2 separate regions of the Homo sapiens genome follow, and region 2 is linked to region 1. The links are contacts of gene promoters, found by promoter capture Hi-C in human tissues and cell types (Jung and others, 2019). All regions are on one chromosome and are shown on one strand. The core of a region is centred on a gene start or on the middle of the fragment in contact, and the rest is flanking DNA. Distances in the headings are between cores, read along the strand shown.

The links. Contacts are between HindIII fragments. The study calls those that stand out against the background at their distance.
Region 2: a contact is called between the fragment with the promoter of NPLOC4 here and the fragment with the promoter of ALYREF in region 1, in 4 of the 25 tissues and cell types used here (adrenal gland, dorsolateral prefrontal cortex, lymphoblastoid cells and 1 more).

The regions. Positions count from the first base shown.
Region 1 is chr17:81,889,871-81,893,251 of GRCh38, forward strand. It overlaps ALYREF (Aly/REF export factor), which reads right to left and starts at 1,716. Exons shown (of 6, transcript NM_005782.4): 1 at 1,453-1,716; 2 at 819-950. The coding sequence starts at 1,710. It overlaps ANAPC11 (anaphase promoting complex subunit 11), which reads left to right and starts at 1,853. Exons shown (of 4, transcript NM_001002248.3): 1 at 1,853-1,971. RefSeq lists silencers at 1,733-2,272, 3,153-3,368. The HindIII fragment of the contact is 25,438 bases long and covers 1-3,381 here.
Region 2 is chr17:81,635,638-81,639,018 of GRCh38, forward strand. NPLOC4 (NPL4 homolog, ubiquitin recognition factor) reads right to left here and starts at 1,475. Exons shown (of 17, transcript NM_017921.4): 1 at 1,279-1,475. The coding sequence starts at 1,293. TSPAN10 (tetraspanin 10) reads left to right here and starts at 1,559. Exons shown (of 4, transcript NM_001290212.2): 1 at 1,559-1,769. RefSeq lists a silencer at 1,205-1,414. The HindIII fragment of the contact is 41,196 bases long and covers 1-3,381 here.

The DNA of each region.
Region 1 (3,381 bases), core at 466-2,965:
TTGGAGAGGGAACCCAGAGTGTGGGGATACTCCGGCCGCAGGCACACAGCGGGAACTGGAGTTCACCAAAAGCGGTTTCCAGTGGATGCTAGAAACCACCTTAAAAAAAGTGTTGAGACACTGTGAGTGCTCACTGGCCCTACTCTGTCCTCCCAAGGCAAATGGCTGGGCTGTGGGCAACTGAACCCTGCCCAGCCATCTCCAAAACTGATTCCCAAAAAGTCATTTCTTAACCAGAAAACAAGTTGAAATGCCATTGGGATTCAATTTTTCTTTTTTTAAAAAAGAAAAGCTTCAACCAAAGATGGATTTGAGAGTCATGTCACTGACGGGACACGGCGGTGGGGAGTGATAAAACCACAGCGTACAAGGTCTTTATAAGACAGTACTCAAGGCAAACAGAGCCAGAAAAACAGACTCCCTGTGCTTCACAAGATACATAAAGAAGATTCTTTTTCTCACATTAACCCACTAAGACAGGCACAAAATTTAAAAAGCAACTGGGCTGGGTCTAACAGCCAAAAACCACTCACATTTGGTCAGTCTTTGTCCCTGTTAGAAACTGGAAGCCCTGGCAGGGGATTTTCACTCACAGAACCCATCTTCAGACTAACAGCAGCAGTTCCTCAGGCTCAGCTAGGCTCGCACCTGCCTGCGCACTGACCCCGGCTTTACTAGCACTGGGTCTGTCCTGCAGCCCTTCAGAGCTGGGAGGGCTCCCTTCGCTAAGGCGGGAAGGGGACTCAGGGCCACATCCCCAAAATCACGATCCGTCCTGTGCAGGGCGAACGGCTCACCGAGAAGCCCTCGTCTCTTACCTGAATATCGGCGTCTGAGACTCCAAAATCCAGATTGGACACCAGCAGTTTCCCACCTGTCTCCACGCCGGCACCACCGCCGAAGCCACTGTCGAAAAGATCGTGCTGCCACTTGTCGGGAAGTTGTTTTGGCTGAAAAAAAAACCGCAACAAGAGCAGATCTGTGAGTCTCAGTCCAGGGCTTTCCTGACCCTCACGGCTACTCCGGACCCTTCCTCTTCCCGGCCTGAGAGGATCCGGCCGAAACGGGGCCGCCAGCGCTCCCTCCGGCGCTGCAGCTGCCCCAGCCCGAGGCCGCACGGTCCCACCGCGGCCGCACAACTTCAGTTCCCTTAGACTAACTTCCCGCCGCCTGTGCCGCGCCCAGCGTCCCCTCCTCTCCTGCCACGAGGCCCCAACGTCCGGAACAAACAAAGAGCTGGGAAGGGTCTCAGCCTCCGGGACCGGACCCCGAAAGAACGACCTCGCTCCCGCCCACCACCCCCTCCGCGCCCACACGCACCCTCCGGACCTCCGGGCGGCCGCTCCACCAGCCTTATCCACCCGCCGGCCCGGGTCTCCGCCGCGAGCGGCCCCGGCCCCAGCCCCGGCTGGCCCCCTCCCACTCTCCGGCGCGGCCGGCCTCCGCACTCACCCTGCTGTAGGGCGCCGGTCGGTTCCTGCCGCCTCCGCCGGCCGCGCCGCGGGCGATGGCCGGCCGGTTCCGGATGGGCCCGCCGCCTCGATTCACTCGCGCGGCGGCCTGCGCCCCACCGCCGCGGCCGCCCTGGGAGCCGGCCCGGCCGCGGCCCCGGCCCCCGCCCCGGCCGCCTCGCTGGCTCCGGTTCAGTTTAATGATGTCGTCCAGAGACATGTCCATTTTGTCGGCCATGGCGGGCGCGGAATCGGGCATCGGCTCGAGCCCGCGCGTCAGCACGCCGGCACGTCACTTCCGGCGCCGCGTGAGGCCTTCCGGTGCCACGGCCTCGGAGCGGCTGCTGATTGGCCGCTGGCGGACGGCTGCGCGCGCGGGACGGGGTGAGGCGGGGAGGCGCGTGCGCACTGGCGTGCGAGACTCGGCGGGCGCTGTTGAGGGAGTCGGGCCGCGACTGTGGTCGTTTTTATACCTTCCCGCGCGGACGCCGGCGCTGCCAACGGAAGGGCGGGTAGGGCGGTGCGTGATTAGGTTGGCGAAGGTGCGAGGGCGCAGGGGGTGGGGCGGCGGCCGTTGGAGGCGGAGCCTACGCGCCCCTCCCTCCCCGCACGCTCCGCCCGATCGGCCAGGGCTGGGGGCGCTGGGGGCGCTACGGGCGCGGCGGGTGCCTGGGAGCTGCTGGGAGTCCTTGTTTCCGCTCCCGCCCAGGACTGTGCGCTCGGCTCGCGGTGGGGTCCGGCGGGCGCGGCTTCGGCGGGCGGCAGCCGCTGCAGACGAGCTGCGGGTTGGTTTTTTGGTCTCCACCTGCAGCCCCCCCAAGTCTGCACTGTCACATTTTGCCAGTCATATCCTTTACAAGTTTTCTTGCGGGCCGGGCGCGGGCCTCACGCCTGTAATCCCAGCACTTTGGGAGGCCGAGGCAAGAGGTTCGCTTCAGCCCAGGAGTTTGAGACCAGCCGGGGCAACATCGTGAGACCCCCATCTCTAAAAAAAAAAATGAGCTGGGCATGGTGGTGCACTTCTGTACTACCAGCTACTTGGGAGGCCGAGGTGGGAGGATTGCTTGAGCCCAGGAGGTCGAGGCTGCAGTGAGCCGTGGTGGCACCACTGCACTCCAGCCTGGGCGACAGAGCCAGACCCTGTCTCCAAAAAAAAATTATTTTTGCAACTTATTAATGAAAACCAGTGTGCCATTTCATTGATTTTTTTTTTTTTTTTTTGAGGCAGTCTCATTCTGTCGCCCAGGCTGGAGTGCAGTGGGGCGATCTCGGCTCACTGCAACCTCTGCCTCCTGGGTTCAAGCGAGTCTCCAGCGGCAGCCTCCCGAGTAGCTGGGACTACAGGCACGTGCCACCATACCTGGCTAATGTTTGTATTTTTAATAGAGACAGGGTTTCGCCATGTTGGCCAGGGTGGTCTTGAACTCCTGACCTCAGATGATCCGCCCGCCTTGGCCTCCCAAAGTGCTGGGATTACAGGCATGAGCCACCACACCCAGCCCATTTCATGGATTTTAAGTTGTTTTGAGATACTTGCTTTTGTTTTTGTTTTTTGAGTCAGGGTCTCCCTCCGTCACCCAGAGTGGAGTGCAGTGGTGTGATCTTGGCTCACTGCAGCCTCAAACTCCTGGGCTCGAGCTATCCTCCCACGTCAGCCTCTCAGGCAGCTGGTGCACGCCACCACAGCTGGCTTTTTTTTTTTTTTTTGAGACAGTCCCACTATGTTGCCCAGGCTGGAGTGCAGTGGTGCGATCTCGGCTCACTGCAATCTCTGCCTCCCAGGTCCAAGTGATTCCTGTGGCTCAGCTTCCCGAATAGAGCTGGGAGCTGGCGTGATCTCAGCTCGCTGCAACCTCCGCCTCCCAGGTTCAAGTGATTCTCTTGCCTCACCCTCCCGAGTAGCTGGGATTACAGTTGCCCACCACCACAC
Region 2 (3,381 bases), core at 225-2,724, 250 kb before region 1:
CTCAGGTGATCCACCCACCTGGGCTTCCCAAAGTGCTGGGATTACAGGTGTGAGTCACCGCGCCGGGCCTGGAGACCTATTCTAGACAACACCTGGCAAAACTGCAGAGACTGTCACAATGCTACAGTATGAACATTACTCTTCACCCAATACTGCTAAGCTTCCCCCAGAAATCCCAAATCTTCCTTAATATTAACCAAAATGCTCCTGTCCAATGGTCAGTTAGTTTTTTTCCCATCACATTTACTTTTGGGAAGAAACTTCTCACAACTTAACGAGGGACTGGTTTTCTGATTTGTCACTGATATTTTTTACGTTAAGGAGGAGTGTGTGACAATTTTTTTTTTTTTTTTGAGACGCAGTCTCGCTCTATAGCCCAGGCTGGAGTGCCATGGAGGGATCTCAGCTCACTGTAACCTCCACCTCCCGCGTTCAAGCAATTCTCCTGCCTCAGCCTCCCAAGTATCTGGGATTACAGTGCGCCATGACGCCCGGCTAATTTTTTGTATTTTTAGTAGAGACAAGATTTTGCCATGTTGGCCAGGATGGTCTCGAACTCCTGACCCCAGGTGATCCACCCGCCTCGGCCTCCCAAAGTGCTGACATCACAGGCGTGAGCCACTGCGCCGGGCCGACAATTTCAATTTCAGGTAAAAAGTGAAATCAACATCATTTACAACATTCCTTTTAAAGAGGAATTGTCAAGTTGTCCTTCCAAGTAAGGAGCAAAGCCGGCAAGTTACTGTGTTTTCATTTTCCCAGGTCTTCTGGTGGGGAGGGAGCTCTGTAACGTCCCCGTCTGCAGAGCTGCTCTCCTTAGTGACTCATGACAAGGCACTTGCTGGGAAGCGGGAGAGCAGGAGGAGAGAATCAGAGGGAGATTAGGATAAGAGGTGTCCCTGGCTCTGAGAGGGGCAGGACTGGCTGGGAGTCCCTGGAATTAGACCAGGAAGTCTCCTGGAGCCGGGAAACGGGTGGGGAAGGAGGGCGGTTTCTCTTCGCCACAGTCCATTCTCCCTGCTTAGAAAGGCTCGGCCTTTCCCTGCCCAGGGCGGGGAACCGGGGTCGTAAGTCCCCTGGGGAGGGACACGGACGGGAAGCAGCCGAGGGGGGTGAAAGTCCCCGAGAGGGGCCCAGCCACTACAGAGAAAGCCCTGGCGAGAGAAGAGAAAGGGGCCGAGTCGCGGCGCCGGCAGGCCCGCCTCCCCCACAGGCCGAGGCCGGCAAATCTGCTGCCTCATCCCGGCGTCCCCGCTCCCGCCCGGCCGCCGCACTCACGATGCTCTCGGCCATGGCGGCTGCTCCTGCCTCCGGGCTCGAGCCCCGGGCCGCCGCCGCCTGCCGCCCCAAGGGCCTCGCAGACCCGGCCGCGGCCTCAGCCCCGGCCCCGGCCTCCCTACGCCGCCGCCACCGCCGCTCCAGCTTCGCCCGCCCGGCTCCGCCAGCCGCCGACGTCCCGGTGCCTCGCTCAATACGCTCCCCTCGGGCGCGAGGCCGGGAAACCAGGTTCCGGCCCCACCAACGGCTCGACGCATGCGCAGGGCGGCGCCGCTGACCCGCCCCCGCCATCCCTGCAACTGGAGGAGGGGATTTTGGAAAGTTGCGTCTGAGATTACTTCTGCTCGTCCTCGGAAACCCAAGCGGCACAGGAAAGTCCAAAAAGGAAGCAAAGACGAGCATCCGAAGTCTCACCCAAAAATAACTACTGCTGCGTATTATAGCGTATTATAATTGGGGAAACAGCATTCCAAACTTCTCTCCATGCACAGGTAAGTAGAGAAACAATTTCAGGAAGGCAGGATCACACCTTCATGTTTTTTTTTTTAAGTATTTTTTAAATTTAACATAAGAAAAACAAACGAGTTTAAACTGCATTTCAGGCCGGGCGCGGTGGCTCATACCTGTAATCCCAGCATTTTGGGAAGCCAAGGTGGACGGATCACCTGAGGTCAAAAGTTCGAGACCAGCCTGGCCAAAATGGTGAAACCCCGTCTCTACTCAAAATACAAAATTAGGCCATACGCGGTGGCTCACGCCTGTAATCCCAGCACTTTGGGAGGCCGAGGCAGGTGGATCACCTGAGGTCAGGAGTTCAAGACCAGCCTGACCAACGTGGTGAAACCCCGTCTCTACTAAAAATACAAAAATTAACTGGGCGTGGTGGCGGGCACCTGTAATCCCAGCTACTCGGGAGTCTGAGGCCGGAGAATCTCTTGAAGCGAAGAGGCGGAGGTTAGAATGAACTGAGTTGGTGCCACTGCACTCCAGTCTGGGCGACAGAGTGAGACTTCATCTCAAAAAAAAAAAAAAAAGACGTCACTTCACAGATTCTAAGGATTTTTGGAGTTGGATACCAGGAAACCGGAAGACTAAATGTATACATATTTCACAACATCACAATTACTGTGACAGTTTTTTTAAACTATGTTAAATTACATTAATTGATTAAATTATGTTAGTAATTGTATTAGTTTGCTCAGGGTGCCACTGTAACTACCCAACATATTGTCCCTGCCCACTGCCTAGACTTTATCAAGACAGGGGAATTGCAATAAAGAGTTTAATTCACACAGAGCCAGCTTGTACAGGTTACTGAGGTTTTATTACTACTCAAAAAAAATTAGTGTCCTTGAGAATTCAGGGATCAGAGTTTTTTGTTTTTTGTTTTTTTTTGTTTTTGAGTCCGAATCTCACTCTGTCACCCACACTGGAGTGCAGTGGCGCGATCTCGGCTCACTGCAACCTTCACCTCCTGGGTTCCAGTGATTCTCCTGCCTCAGCCTCCCGGGTAGCTGGGACTACAGGCGCACACTACCATGCCTGGCTAATTTTGTATTTTTCGTAGAGACGGAGTTTCTCCATGTTGGTCAGGCTGGTCTTGAACTCCTGACCTCAGGTGATCCGCCCACCTGGGCCTCCCCAAAGTGCTGGGACTATAGACGTGAGCCACCGTGCCCGGCTGGGGATCCGCGGTTTTAAGGATAATTTGGTGGGTATGGGGTCAGAAAGTAGGGAGTGTTGATTGGTTGGGTCAGAGGTGAAATGATAGGGAGTCAAAACTGTCCTCTTGTGCTGAGTCGGTTCCTGGGTGGGGGCCACAAGATATGAGCCAGTTTATCAATCTGGGTGGTGCCAGCTGATCCATGGAGTGCAGAGTCTGCAAAATATCTCAAGCGCTGATCTGTTTTTTAATAGTGATGTTATCCTGAGAAGCAATTTGGGAGGTTTAGAATCTTGTAGCCTCCAGCTACATGACTCCTAAACCATAATTTCTAATCTTATGGCTAATTTGTTAGTCCTGAAAAGGCAGTCTTGTCCCCAGGTAGGAAGGGAGTTTGTTTTGCAAAGGGCTGTTACCATCTTTGTTTCAAAGCTAAACTA